Linked DNA regions of Homo sapiens: regions 1 and 3 are each linked to region 2. The links are contacts of gene promoters, found by promoter capture Hi-C in blood cells and fetal thymus (Javierre and others, 2016). All regions are on one chromosome and are shown on one strand. Each heading gives the region's core, a stretch centred on a gene start or on the middle of the fragment in contact. The rest is flanking DNA. Distances are from core to core; before and after follow the strand shown.

Region 1 (4,828 bases), core at 2,141-4,640, 550 kb after region 2:
GTCTGCCAATTCGACCCCCTGCCCCAGCCCTCCGAGGCCAGCGCCCTGGGCCCCTCCCTCCACCTTCCCAGCTGGAGTGGCAGCCGCTGTGTCTTTTCTGGTTTTTATTCCTAGTCCTTCCCTTTTCCGTCCTGCATGCTGTCGCCAGGGTTGTCTTTATTTAGCTCTTCTCTGTGAGGCAGGGCCTCCTCCATTGTCTTCAGCCACCTGCCTCACCTGTGATGCCGGGCACTGCGGGAGTGTTCCTTCGTCTGTGCCTTTGTTAGCTGTTTCCCACCTGGAATTCCTCCTCCTTTCCCCTTTGCCCAAGTCTTCCTGTGCTTCATAGGTGCACCCTTGTGAGACTCTCTGGAGTGCCCAATCTTAGTGGACTCTCCTTTTGCACTCTTACTGCTCTTTTATTTTTTATTTTTACAAATAGCTTTATTGAGATATAATTTACATGCCACAAACAGCACATATTTAAAGTGTACAATTTGATAGGTTTTGACATATGTACACACCTATAAAACCATTGACATAACCAAGATAATGAATTTCCATCCCCCAAAGGTTAGCTTATGCCCTTTTAAATATATCCCTCAACCCTAGACAACTACTGGTCTGCTTTCTGTCACTATAGATTCGTTTACATTTTCTGGAATTTCACATAAATGGAATCATGCCTACGCACTTCTTTTCTGCCTGGCTTCCTTCACCCAGCATAACGCTTTTGGGATTCATCCATGATGCTGTCTGTTTTGATAGTTTTCTCCTTCTCATTGCTAGGTGGTATTCCACGGTGTGTGTGTATCACAATTTATTTTTCTCATTCAGATTTTCACGAATGAGTCTTATTTCCTCAACCTGACTGTCAGCCATTCGAGGGCTAGGATGGTGTGTTCAGACCTGCCCACGATGGGCACTGTGTCTGTTGATGAGAAGCAGTTGTGCTGCAAGAGGCTAGGCCTGTGGTGTCTGGGGCCAGAATGCTAAGTTCGAAGCCTGGATGTGCCACTTGGTCAAATTTCTTAACTTCTTGGTGTCTCAGTTTCATTATTTGTAAATATAGATACTACTACTTATCTGGTAGTGTTATTATTAGGAAAATAAAGTACATAAATGTAAAACTCTTAGAAAAATATCTTGAACATATTTATTATTAGTTACCTGTGGGAGGCAGCAGAGCATGGTGGTTTAAAACCATGGATTTGGGCCGGGCATAGTGGCTCACACCTGTAATCCCAGCACTTTGGGAGGCTGAGGCAGGTGGATCACTTGAGGTCAGGAATTCGAGACCCAGCCTGGCCAACATGGTGAAATCCTGTCTCTACTAAAATACAAAAATTAGCTGGGTATGGTGGCACATGCCTATAGTCCCAACTATTTGGGAGGCTGAGGCAGGAGAATCACTTAAACTCGGGAGGCAGAGGTTGCAATGAGCCGAGATCATGCCACTGCACTGCAGTCTAGGCGAGAGAGTGCGACTCTGTCTCAAAACAAACAAACAAACAAACAAACAAAAACCAAAACATAAAATAACAAAGAAACAAACCATGGATTTGGATTCAAATCCTCACTCTGTCGCTGTGCCTGTGGGAACCTAGCAGGTGCCTTAGCTTTCTCATTGGAAAAGTGAGGGCAGTGGTAAAACATATCCTCACCGTAGGACTGCAGTGAGGATTACATGAGTGATTTAAATAAAGTCCTCAACACAGTGGCACACAGCAGGTGGCATCTGAATGTTAGCTGCTATCATTTATTGAGTGAGTGAAAGGTGTCAAGGGCAGGACCAGAGGGGTTAATCCTGAAGGAGGGCAGGGCACTTTGGGGGAAGGGGGCCTTACTTGTGGGTATTTGATCTTCCTTCTTAGCTGACTGATTGCTGACTGTGGAAGTAATAAGTAAGACCTTCTTGACCTGGGAACTTCTTAGAGGCCTTTGAGCTACTGGATAAGAATGTGTTTCTTCAGGGGCAATTTCACTTGAATTTAATTTTAAGTTTAAATTTAACTTTATGGCTGAATCCAGAGGGAGACTGAGTCCTGGCTCTGCTTCTTATTAGTGGAGCTCTTTGCTGTGTACCCTGTGCTAATCACAGTTTCTCACTCCTTACAACAGTCCTGCAAGGCAGGCTTGAGTACGCTCATTTTACAGGTGAGGAAACTGAGGCACAGCGGAATGCAGCCTTTGTTAGAGTTCAGGAGTTCCTGACTTCAAAGCCTTGTGCTGTGGGGCTGTGTGTACCTTCGAGAAGGCTGCTCTCTGCCCTGGGCCGTCTCCCATTTGAAAAATCAGAGAACTGCACTCAGGCCTCTAAAGTCACTGCGGGCATCAAGAATGTGATGCTTTCAAGAGTTTTGCTGTCCTCCCCACCGCTCTTCCTACCCTATTGTCTGAAGTCAATTTCAGAAATAAATGGATTTTTTTCCCCAAGCAACAACCCAATTTCTCCTTTGGCTTGAGAAATGACTAGCAGTGCGATCCAAGAACTCTCATTTTTCTTTCTTTGCTTGGTTTTAGCACTGCCAACAGAGAAGGCTGTAGTGAAAATTTCCGCATGTTAGTTTACAAAGCAATGTGGCAACCACCTTTCTGAAAGCCATTAGAACCTCACAACCTCCTTTCAGCCTGCTTTTGTTTGCCTGTGAGGCTCTGTCAGAGGGCTGGGTCAGGGACTGGCCCTTGCCGGAGGCAGGGAGAGCTGACCTCTGTGAATTCTGGGCTTCGTACCTAGAATGTCCTGTGCCCTTTCTGAACCTCGCTTTGCCCTCAGTTCCTGGAAGCCTGGGTCCCGGACCACCAGCCCTGTCAGATCTGCACATGCCTCAGCGGGCGGAAGGTCAACTGCACAACGCAGCCCTGCCCCACGGCCAAAGGTGAGAGTCCTCCCCTCCCTGGTGCCTTCATGGAGGAACAAGGGCCCCTGCAAGGCCCCCCAGCCACCCATCTTCACCTCTGGCAGAGCAGACTCAAACACTGGCACCTAGAGTCCTAGAGTGGGTGGGCTTCCTTGCCCAGCCTGCATTTCCCATCACTGGGCCTGGGAGCCCCATTCTGCACCTGGGGTCGACATTCTCAGATTAACCCTCGCCTCTGGTCCCCAGCAACGGTCAGACTTAAGAGTCCCCTGGAGGGTAAATGTGAGGGTGTCAACAGGAACATGGGGACACTCATCTGTCAGAGGTCCCGTGGCCTGGATCCTTGTGGGATGACCGTACAGAACTCCTACTAGTTTTCAGTGAGCAAGAACATTTCAAATCCCTCTGAGGCTGTCCCACCACTAATTTCTCTGACTTTTGTGGCCGTTCCTCTCCTCTAGCTCCCACGTGTGGCCTGTGTGAAGTAGCCCGCCTCCGCCAGAATGCAGACCAGTGCTGCCCCGAGTATGAGTGTGGTATGTGTCCCACCAGGGGGATGTCTCCAGGGCCCAACCCTAGCCCCAGGGGGCACCACGTTGAAGGTGCTGAAAGGTGTCTCTGTTCTCAGGCACAGGGTGTGTGAAAGGAGGTGGGTAAGGACCGACTGGATACTCCAAAAAAGTGGAAAGGGTTACCTCTGGAGAATAGGATTTGCTTCCTAGAAGAATCTACTGTAAATTACTAAACACAGGTTTGACAGGATTAATACAAGAATGGGGTGATTACTGGGGACTATGGAGATATACTGAAGAAAAGGTCATGCCAAAGCAACCCATTTTCATTTTCAATAAGATTTTGAGGCTGCTAGATATAGAGAAGACCACACACTGGGCACCTTGAGTTCAGCAGGTTGTTTGCTAGAGGTTTTCATGCTAGCCTTGCAGGCTGCTCTGTGAATAGTGGGCTGAATAATGGTATAAGTCCGTGAATTCAGAGCTGATGGAATTACGGTTAGCATGGCAGGAAATCATTAGTGCCTTTGTCCCAGTCCTGTCCAGTGTGTTTATTGCTTGTACAGATGAAGACCTAAAGCACAGGCTTGTACAATTTGCAGTGATGCAGATATTGAAGGGAGAGCAGATAGATCAGGGGACAGTCCAAGGAACTAAAAGAAAATCATATAATCGGAGAAACTTATTTGTACTCATGAAATTGATCAGAAATAAATAGAAGTCCTGTAGGGGAGGGAGATGTGGCTTGAGAACAATTAATGTAAAGGAGGTCTTAGAATGTTAGCAGTAGAGAGAACTAGAGGGATCATTTACTTCAAGCCCCTCATTTTATAGACATTACTAGTCTCCTACAATGTGCCGGGCACTTTGCCCTTATTATTTTGTGAACTCCTCAGACTGATCCTATAAGGTAGAGTTCCCACCTTCCAGAAGAAGAAACAGGTCTAGAGGATCCAAGTTGACTTGGCTGAGATGTGAAAGCCCTAGTGGATGATAAGAATAATCAGTATGTGACTTGGATTGATCTATCTGTCTGTCTGTCTGTCTGTCTATCTATCTATCTATCTATCTATCTATCTATCTATCTATCTATCCATCTATCCATCCATCCTATGTATTTATCATCTGTCCTATCTCTATCTAACCTATGTATCTATTTATCATCTATCCTGTCTCTATCTATCCTATGTATCTATCATCTATCCTATCTCTATCTAAGCTATATATCTATTTATCATCTATCCTCTATCATCTATCTATCTATCTATCTATCTCTATTGTATCTAGTTATCTATCCTATATCTATGTATGTATCTATCTGTCTGTCTAATCTATCTAACCTGTGTATCTATTTATAATCTATCCTATCTCTATCTAACCTATGTATCTATCATCTATCCTATCTCTGTCTAACATATGTATCTATCATCTATTCTATATCTATCTGTCTATCTACCCTATGTTTTATCATCTATC
Region 2 (4,584 bases), core at 1,828-4,327:
GGACTGTGGTCTGCAAAAGGAGTGAGGCCCTGCAGCGTACTCCCCACATCACCCCTCTACCTCCCTCCCCACCTTGAAAGGAAATTATGGGAAAGCCAGTCCCCAGAACCCCCAACCCCAGGGTTGCACGCAGCCCCGGCAGGGAGGAGCCAGTCTTGGATGAGAAAGGTGGGAGCCTCAGTCCCATTCCCCAGCTCTCATACCATGAGTCCTTCCACGATACCAAAGTTGTCATGGATGACCTTGGCCAGGGGTGCTAAGCAGTTGGTGGTGCAGGAGGCATTGCTGCAAAGAAAGAGGGAGCGGGGCGCAAGTCAGGGGAGCGTGTCCATAGGGTGCCAGGCTGGCCGCTTCTCCACGGGCCCTGCCTTCCTCACCTGATGATCTTGAGGCTGTTGTCATACTTCTCATGGTTCACACCCATGACGAACATGGGGGCATCAGCAGAGGGGGCAGAGATGATGACCCTTTTGGCTCCCCCCTGCAAATGAGCCTACAGCAGAGAAGCAGACAGTTATGAACCCGGGTCCTGCCTTTGCAGGGCTGAGTCAGCTTCCCCTCCCGCGGGCCCTCCTGCACTCACCCCAGCCTTCTCCATGGTGGTGAAGACGCCAGTGGACTCCACGACGTACTCAGCGCCAGCATCGCCCCACTTGATTTTGGAGGGATCTCGCCTATGGGGGTGGGGGGGAGATGGGGACAGGACCATATTGAGGGACACAAGGTTACCATATACCCAAGGGAGCCACACCATCCTAGTTGCCTCCCCAAAGCACATTTCTTCCATTCTGTCTTCCACTCACTCCTGGAAGATGGTGATGGGATTTCCATTGATGACAAGCTTCCCGTTCTCAGCCTTGACGGTGCCATGGAATTTGCCATGGGTGGAATCATATTGGAACATGTAAACCTGGGGGAATACGTGAGGGTATGAAGGGGCTGCCCATCAGCCAGGTGGCTCCTCCCACACCAGCTTTGGGGCTCACCATGTAGCACTCACCATGTAGTTGAGGTCAATGAAGGGGTCATTGATGGCAACAATATCCACTTTACCAGAGTTAAAAGCAGCCCTGGTGACCAGGCGCCCAATACGACCAAATCTAAGAGACAAGAGGCAAGAAGGCATGAGGAGGGGAGGCTCCTCCAGAATATGTGAGCAGCCCTAGGCCACCTCCCCATTAAGAGGGCGAATGCAGCATCTCCTTACCCCCAGGAGGGCCCAAGAGGTTGAATTTTATCTCCCTTGAGCTTCCCTGCCAGGCTGGCCTGGCTTAAGGCATGGCTGCAACTGAAGGCTCCAGGGCTGCCCAACACCCCCAGTCATACGAAGCCCTTCCAGGAGAAGCGGCCATGTGGGGCACTGCCACCCACAGTCTGGGCACAAGCTTTGTACATGGTATTCACCACCCCACTATGCCACCCCAGGAATGCTTGCTGCTGCCTAGCTCAGCTGCACCCTTTAGGGAGAAAACGCTTGTACACTCAGCATCATCAAACTCAAAGGGCAGGAGTAAAGGTCAGAAATTAACTGGACAGGGCAAGCCCACCCCTTCTCTAAGTCCCTCCTACAAAAGGGACAGAGACTGGGGCGGGTGGGAAGAGGGGAAGCTGTATTTTAACCCCCTAGTCCCAGGGCTTTGATTTGCCAAGTTGCCTGTCCTTCCTAGCTCTTTTCCAGAAATCAGGAGTGGGAGCACAGGTAAGTGCATGTGTGTGGGGAGAAGGGATGGGAGAGAGCCCCAGCCCAGGCCCCCAGCTACAGAAAGGTCAGCAGCTATATTTAACCTCAGACCAGGGTGCGGTGGGAGATCTGGTTTCCGGAAGACGGAATGGGGAGAAGGGCAGGTTCCCCGAGGCGCCCAGACACCCAATCCTCCCGGTGACATTTACAGCCTGGCCTTTGGGGTCGGGTCAACGCTAGGCTGGCAGGGGAAGGGCGGGGCCGTGAGGTGAGCCGGCGCTGCAGGAAGGGGCCACCACCAGAGGGGCCATTTTGCGGTGGAAATGTCCTTTTCCAACTACCCATGACTCAGCTTCTCCCGGCTTGGCACCATGCCACAGCCACCACACCTCTGCGGGGAGGGGACACAAGAGGACCTCCATAAACCCACTTCTTTGATTTACCAGAGAATAATCTAGGAAAAGCATCACCCGGAGGAGAAATCGGGCCAGCTAGCCTCGCTCCACCTGACTTCCCCGCCACACGCGACTCCACCCATCGAGGCAGGAGCGCAGGGTTAGTCACCGGCAGGCTTTCCTAACGGCTGCCCATTCATTTCCTTCCCGGTTGCAACATGGCGGCCGCTCTACCGCAGGCGCAGCATCCGGACAGGGATGCACCCGCTGCGCACTAGCATCCCGGGGCCTGCGGTGCCGGAGGCCGTGGGGGAGGGGCTCCTCTGCGACACGTGACCCCGCAGAGCGCGAAAGGAAAGAAAGCGTCCCCCACCTAGGGGTCCGGGTCGGGATCTCGGGCGGGAGTAGGGACCTCCTGTTTCTGGGGACTAGGGGAAGGAGGCTCCGGGCAGATGGCGCCGCAAGGGCGGAGCTGCACAGGGCGCCACAGCCTGGGTGCGGGGCTCCGCCAGGTCCGAGCGCTGACCTTGAGCTCTCCTTGCGGGGAACAGCTACCCTGCCCCCATACGACTGCAAAGACCCGGAGCCCGCAAGGCTCGTAGACGCGGTTCGGGGGCGGTCGCAGCCCAGGGCCCCCCAGCCACCCGCGAACTCACCCGTTGACTCCGACCTTCACCTTCCCCATGGTGTCTGAGCGATGTGGCTCGGCTGCGCGGAGGGAGAGAACAGTGAGCGCCTAGTGGCCCCGGCCGACACACACGCCTCCCCTCCCCTCCCCCACCAGGCCTCCATGCCCAGCCCGCGCCGCATCACGTCCTCCGCCCGCCCCTGCAATGCGGAGGCCGCCCGGGCCCACCCCGCAGCGGCGCGAACACATCCGGCCTGCGCCCGCCCCTGCCGCCTTCAGGCCGTCCCTAGCCTCCCGGGTTTCTCTCCGCCCGTCTTCACCTGGCGACGCAAAAGAAGATGCGGCTGACTGTCGAACAGGAGGAGCAGAGAGCGAAGCGGGAGGCTGCGGGCTCAATTTATAGAAACCGGGGGCGCGGCGGCAGGCGGTGACTCGGACCCCGCCTCCCGCCAGGCTCAGCCAGTCCCAGCCCAAGGTCTTGAGGCCTGAGCTACGTGCGCCCGTAAAACCGCTAGTAGCCGGGCCCTACTTTCTCCCCGCTTTTTTTTTTCCGCAGCCGCCTGGTTCAACTGGGCACGCACCGAGCGTGTGGGCCCCGACGTAGGGGGGAAGGGACTGAGATTGGCCCGATGGGAGGTGATCGGTGCTGGTTCCCAGGACTGGACTGTGGGCAGCAGGACACTAGGGAGTCAAGGACGGGGACCCTTACACGCTTGGATGAAACAGGAGGACTTTGGGAACGACTGAGATGGGGAATTGGAGCCGGAGCCCAGCACCGCTCGCGGCTGCACGCGGCCTGCCCCCTCCCCTTTCTTTCTTTCAAAGGCTGAGAGGCGGGAAAGTTGGGGAACTTCTCCTCGAGGCTCTGCGGTAGTGACACCGGACTGCTCAGGCAAAGGCCTAGGAGGGGCCCATGGGCCTCGGGCGGGGGCCCGTGGTTCCTTCCCAGCCCCCACTTCCCCCTCCCCATCTCCTGGCTCCTGGCATCTCTGGGACCGAGGCCTGGGCTGGGCACTGGGCACTGGGCACTGGGGGCCTGGAGAGGAAGGAGGCTCGGGAGGCGGCTTGAGGGGGAGGGGGAGGTTTCTGCACGGAAGGTCACGATGTCCTGCAGCCCTGTAGCCTGGACCTGATAATTAGGGCAGACAATCCCGGCCCTGTGTGCACCAGCGGCTCTCTCCGGGCTGGGGCCCCAGGCGGAGGACAGGATGGCTGGTGGGGGCCCAGAGGCCTCCCACAAAGGCACTCCTGGAAACCTGTGGGCTGTGCTGCCTAGGGAGAGAGACAGTGTGCCTTTCATTCCATCCAGCCTGGGGCGAAGAGCGGGACGTGAGGGCGGAAGTCCCTCCCCGCCCTGGGACGTGCAGGCGAGCCAGGAGCCAGGGACTCCCTTTCACTGGCTGCGCCGGGGGATATTGAGGGCAGGGTGAGTCAAGAAGAGGGAAAAAGTGGGAAAAGAGGTCTTGGGCACACGGTGGGAACAGGTCCCCTGCCCCCTCCCACAGGGGATCCATTCTTCTGGTAGGAGGGCAGAGGGCCAGGTTTGTGAGTGTGGGATGGGAGGGTGCTGAACACTTGTAAGGAAGGGGGTGGGGTGGGGTGGCCTTGGCCCATCAGCAGGTGCATGGGAGGGGGATCCCGGGCCTCTTTGCTGGCCCAGCATAACCTGACACCAGCCCCCTGCCCTTCTAGCTAAAAGCCGGTTGCTAAGTTTAGCCTGCCTGGTGATAATCTTTGCTTAAAAAGCACCCACAGGACTCCAGTCCCTGACCCTGCCTTTCTGGGATTGCCTTTCCTGCTGGGACCCAGAGCCAGGCTGTGTCCTCGTCTGGCTGCCACTGGCATGGTTGGTGCGGGCTTTTCACAATGACCACCCAGAG
Region 3 (4,766 bases), core at 493-2,992, 520 kb before region 2:
AAGATAGGCTCATGTCCCAGCTCTGCTCCTCACCAGTGGTGATGTCTTAGGCTCATCACCTAACTTCCTAGTTTCTTTTTTTTTTTAAACCTGGCTCACTATTGACAGACCTAGTTTCTTCAAATATAAAACAGAAATCCTATCAGTTCTGCCTACCCTACATGACTATCAGATGGACCTAATGAAATAATTCGAGTGAACAAGCTTTGCACACTATGGTACCTAATAAATGTGCATGTTAAAAGGAAGAGAATCATGAGCCCGTAAGGTCTCGGAAGACAGGTGCTGGGTCTGATCCGTCTTGGTATTGTCCGCCATGTCTAGCAGTGTCATGCAGAACACAGATGTGTATGCAACCATCTGTGACTCCCCTGGCTGCCCAGCATTCAAACTGCTTTGCCACATTAGAGGAGTTCCCCATGATATCAGTCTTGGGAACAGAGCCGACCTCCCAAGAAAGAAGACACAGGCACAAGAAGTGTGTCACCCCCACCTCCAGCAGCTCTGGAGCAGGCTAATTTGTAATCACCCGAAGGGTTCTTCCTGCCTGCTGCGTAGACAAAACCAATTCACTGAGACCATGGTATTGCAGTAGAGAAAGAGTTTAACAACACAGAGCTAGCCAAGTGAAAGGATGGGAGTTTATTTCTCAAATCAGTCCCCACAAGAACTCAGAGGCTAGGGTTCTTAAGGAGAATTTGGTGGGCGGTAAGAGCAGAGAATGGGTGCTACTGATTCGTTGGGGATAAAATCATAGGAGTGTAGAAAACAGACCTTGTGCACTAAGTCCACCTCTGGGTGGGGGTCACAGGACCAGTTGAGTCATGAATCATTTCAGAATGCAAAAGTCTGAAAAATATCTCAGAAGACCAATATTTGGTTTTACAATAGTGATGTTATCTATAGGAGCAATTGGGGAAGTCACAGATCTTGTGACCTCTGGCCGCATGACTCCTGAGCAGCAAAGGATTATAGAAAGGCAAGCTAGGGGTCAATGGCTGGTCATCGGTTAGCTACACCCACATCTTAGCAAAATTCAAGCCCCTCCCATAATCCTAATCTTGTGGCCTTTCATTAGTTTTACAAAGGCAGGTCCCTGAGCTAGGAGGGGGTTCATTTTAGGGAGGGACTAATATCATCTTTGCTTCAGAGTTAAACTGTAAACTAAATTCCTCCCATGGTTAGCTTGGCCTATGCCCAGGAATGAGTGAGGACAGCCAGCCTGTGAGGGTAGAGGCAAGATGGAGTCACCCATGCTAGACTTCCCTCACTGTCATCATCTTTGCAAAGGCAGTTTCACATGCACACACGTTCCATTCATCAGAGGCCCAGGCTTTCAATCCAGAGCCAGTAATGCCAGGAAGCAGGGACCCTAGAGCCTGTAGGGACAGTGGTGGCCACAGCAAGATCACAGAGGAGGTAGAGTTCTCAGCAGCACCCAGCATCCAGCCCCAGTGGGTAAGCATTGCAAGCCGAAGCATCCAGGCCATGGTCAAAGAAGTGGCAGCAGCGGCAGCCAGGTTCTGACCATTGTCCCTGCTGGGAAGCTTCCACAATGGCTCTGTAGCTCCCCTGGAATTTCCATGAGCAATCCAGGGTCCCTTTAATAAATTCATCTTCTGCTAAACTCAGCCAGAGTTGGTTTCTACTGCTTGCAACTAAAAATAATGGCTGATACAACACGCTCAGTGAGTATCTGAGGATTGGTTGATTGAATGTGCCAAAGTGAATTCAAACCATTCATTACCTTTCATTTTAGCCGTGTGACCTTGAAAAAGTTACTATGCCTCTCTGAGCTCCAGCTTTATCAGGTGTAAAATGGGAATAATAGCACCTACTTCAGACACAGCTATCACTGTCAGGGCCCATTGTGGCCAAGATTAAACAAAATAACGTATGCTAAGCATTCAGCATATACCTGGTACTCAGTAAGCTTTTAACAAATAACAAACCATATTAACTTCTCCAAACACCAAACACGGCAGCAGTAGCAGCAGCTTCCTCCCCATCAAGAGCATGCTTCAGTTAATACCAAGGAAAAGAGGACGCCTTATCAATGTGTCCAGGGTTCCTTCTCCTTTTCCTTGGAGCTCAACACTGCCCGATCTTGCCAGAAAAGTTAGACTCTCCTATCCTCACCTGTGTTTTATGTTCATTTCTGCAATTTTGCCACGAAATTGAAATACATTGCCAGGAGCAGTGGCTCACACCTGTAATCCCAGCAACTCAGAAGGCTGAGGCGGGAGGATCGCTTGAGGCTGGGAGTTCAAGACCAGCCTAGGCAACATAGGGAGACCTCATCTCTACAAAAAAGTTTAAAAATTAGCCATCCTGTGGTCCCAGCTACTCAGGAGGCTGAGAGGCAGGAGGATTGCTTGAGCCCAGGAGTTCAAGCCTGCAGTGAGCTATGACCACAGCATTGCACTTCAGCCTGGGTGCTCCGTTTCCCACCTCAAATTTCATTGGTCAGGCATAGTGGCTCATGCCAAAGTGCTGTAATCCCAGCACTTTGGTAGACCAAAAAGAGAGGATCACTTGATGCCAGGAGTTCAAGACCAGCCTGGGGAACATAGCAAGATTTCATCTCTACAAAAAGTCAAAAAATTAGTCAGGCATAGTGGCACGCACTTGTAGTCCCAGCTACTCAGGAGGCCAAGGGAGGAGGATAACTTGAGCCCAGGATTTTGAGGCTGCAATGAGCTATGATCACACCACTGCACTCCAGCCTGGGCAACAGAGTGAGACCCTGTCTCAAAAATAAATAAAATAAAATTTCATGCAGCCATGTTATCTAAGTAGCTATCGGAGATCCACAATGAGATTAAATGATGGTATTAAGAAGCTCCAACAAGGGATTGCCAACAATAAAGGTTTTGAACAACAAATAACCCTCCCATTTTCAAATTTGAACAACAAATAACCCTCCCATTAATCAAACTCCAAAATTAAAGTTCAAATCCCATTGCAAACTGAAACTATGACATTAAAGTCAAAAGTAATTGAAGCCCAAAGTGTCTATGTTAAAGTCACAAAACTATCAGTTCCAATTTGTGTTCTGTTTAATCCCAGCTAGTGGGTTTCCAATCCCTGGGCAGAGCTGTGGTCCCTTCCGAAGCTGCGGCCTGGGCTGGAACAGGTTAGTTCCTCCAAGGCTTCAAAGACTGAGTTCTGAGGCAAACCTTCCATGAGTCTGTTTTTAAAATTCCAGAAAGTTAATGAGACACAAGAATATTGCAACACCAGCCCCACAACCACAAAATTTAGAAAATGAGCTATCCCCAGACCCCAAGACAATCATCCCAAGCAAAATTAAAATTGTATTTCCAGAAACCACCACTTAATGTCACCAAAATCTGAAGAAGAAATTCAGTGGTATCTGAGGGCAACAGAAAAGCTTAAGCTTAGTTTAAAACCTTACCTTGAGGCCAGTCGATTTATGCCAGTTGTTCAGAATCCATGTCCTGTGGGCCAGGTGTGGTGGCTCACACCTGTAATACCAATACTTTAGGAGGCCAAAGCAGGAGGGTTGCTTGAGTTCAGGAGTTTGAGATCAGCCTGGGCAACATGGTGAGACCCTATCTCCACAAAAAAAAGAAAGAATGCCAGGCATGCTAGAGCATGTCTGTAGTCCCAGCTACTCAGGAGGCTGAGGTGGGAGGATCACTTGAGCCCTGGAGGTCAAGGCTGCAATGAGCTGTGATCACACCACTGCACTCCAGCCTGGGCAATAGAGTGAGACCCTGTCAAAAAAAAAAGTCTATGTCCTGTGAACTTAAACACCATTGGAAGAAAACATGTAGAAAAAGGTTAATTGGGCATTTTGTACTTGCCATATCGGGATCCTCGTAGGTGGAACTTCTAAATTTGCATCCCCTCCCACCATCTCCTGACCTTGTCCCCATGAGCCCCAAGCTGTGGGCTCTTCAGTGCCTTGTTAGTTGGTGAGCTCTCCCTAGTTAGAACTCTAGCAGCCTCCATGATATTAAAAAGGACAGACATTTCCATCGTGTGCCTCTTTTATGACTTCTGCCACTCCTCTTTTTTGGACTCACTAAGACCTAAAAAGCCTTCTTCCTAAGGAGGGCTTTCCCCACACCCTCATGTTCATTTCAGCTGAAGGCAGCACCCTCAGCAGACTTTTGAACTGAGGTTGTTACTAGGTGTCACTCCCGGGTGGGTGGTCATCCTGTCTTGTTTTCTCTGTTCTCTGTGGGTCGAGTTGTTTTCTTGATGAATGCCAATGCATGTACCTTCTGCTCATTGGGAAGGGCTGTCTGGCCTGGGATTCCAGCACAACCACCACGCCCTTACCTGGCCCCTTTAATCAGAGGCAGCCCAACAGTTAAAGGAGCACCCACGCACAGAGAAAAGAAAGAACCAATGCAGGAACTCCAGCAACTCCAATGGCCAGACTGTCCTATGTCCACCAAACAACCTCACTAGTTCTCCAACAAGGGTTCTTAATGAGGCTGAGTTGGCTGAAATGACAGAAATAGAATTCGGAATATGGATAGGAATGAAGATCATTGAGATTCAGGAGAATGGCAAAACCCAATCCAAGGAAACTAAGAATCACAATAAAATGATGCAGGACCTGACAGATGAAATAACCAGTAAAAAAGAGAACCTAACTGATCTGATAGAGCTGAAAAACACACTACAAGAATTTTACAATGCAGCCGGGCACAGTGGCTCATGCCTGTAATCCCAGCACTTTGGGAGGCTGATGCAGGTGGACCACTTGAGGCCAGGAGTTCAAGACCAGC

The links. Contacts are between HindIII fragments. The CHiCAGO score rates a contact against its expected background, and 5 or more counts as called.
Region 1: a fragment that was not itself captured here is called in contact with the fragment with the promoter of GAPDH in region 2 in 1 of 17 cell types (naive CD8 T cells); the score reaches 5.0 in naive CD8 T cells.
Region 3: a contact is called between a fragment that was not itself captured here and the fragment with the promoter of GAPDH in region 2, in 1 of 17 cell types (activated CD4 T cells). The highest score is 5.2, in activated CD4 T cells.

What each region holds. Positions count from the first base shown.
Region 1 is chr12:5,983,593-5,988,420 of GRCh38, reverse strand. It overlaps VWF (von Willebrand factor), which reads left to right. Exons shown (of 52, transcript NM_000552.5): 39 at 2,756-2,858; 40 at 3,302-3,376. Among named protein-coding and RNA genes, the nearest start is that of ANO2, 41 kb to the right of the region's middle. The HindIII fragment of the contact is 7,184 bases long and covers 1-4,828 here.
Region 2 is chr12:6,533,010-6,537,593 of GRCh38, reverse strand. It overlaps GAPDH (glyceraldehyde-3-phosphate dehydrogenase), which reads right to left and starts at 3,077. Exons shown (of 9, transcript NM_002046.7): 1 at 3,025-3,077; 2 at 2,733-2,784; 3 at 1,001-1,100; 4 at 804-910; 5 at 584-674; 6 at 378-493; 7 at 204-285; 8 at 1-10. The coding sequence starts at 2,761. GAPDH-DT (GAPDH divergent transcript) reads left to right here and starts at 3,187. Exons shown (of 2, transcript XR_002957397.2): 1 at 3,187-4,130; 2 at 4,451-4,584. RefSeq lists enhancers at 202-975, 2,524-3,297, 3,298-4,071, 4,072-4,584 and silencers at 2,786-2,925, 3,646-3,895. The HindIII fragment of the contact is 4,237 bases long and covers 1,388-4,584 here.
Region 3 is chr12:7,054,850-7,059,615 of GRCh38, reverse strand. No RefSeq gene overlaps it. Among named protein-coding and RNA genes, the nearest start is that of C1S, 3.5 kb to the left of the region's middle. The HindIII fragment of the contact is 386 bases long and covers 1,550-1,935 here.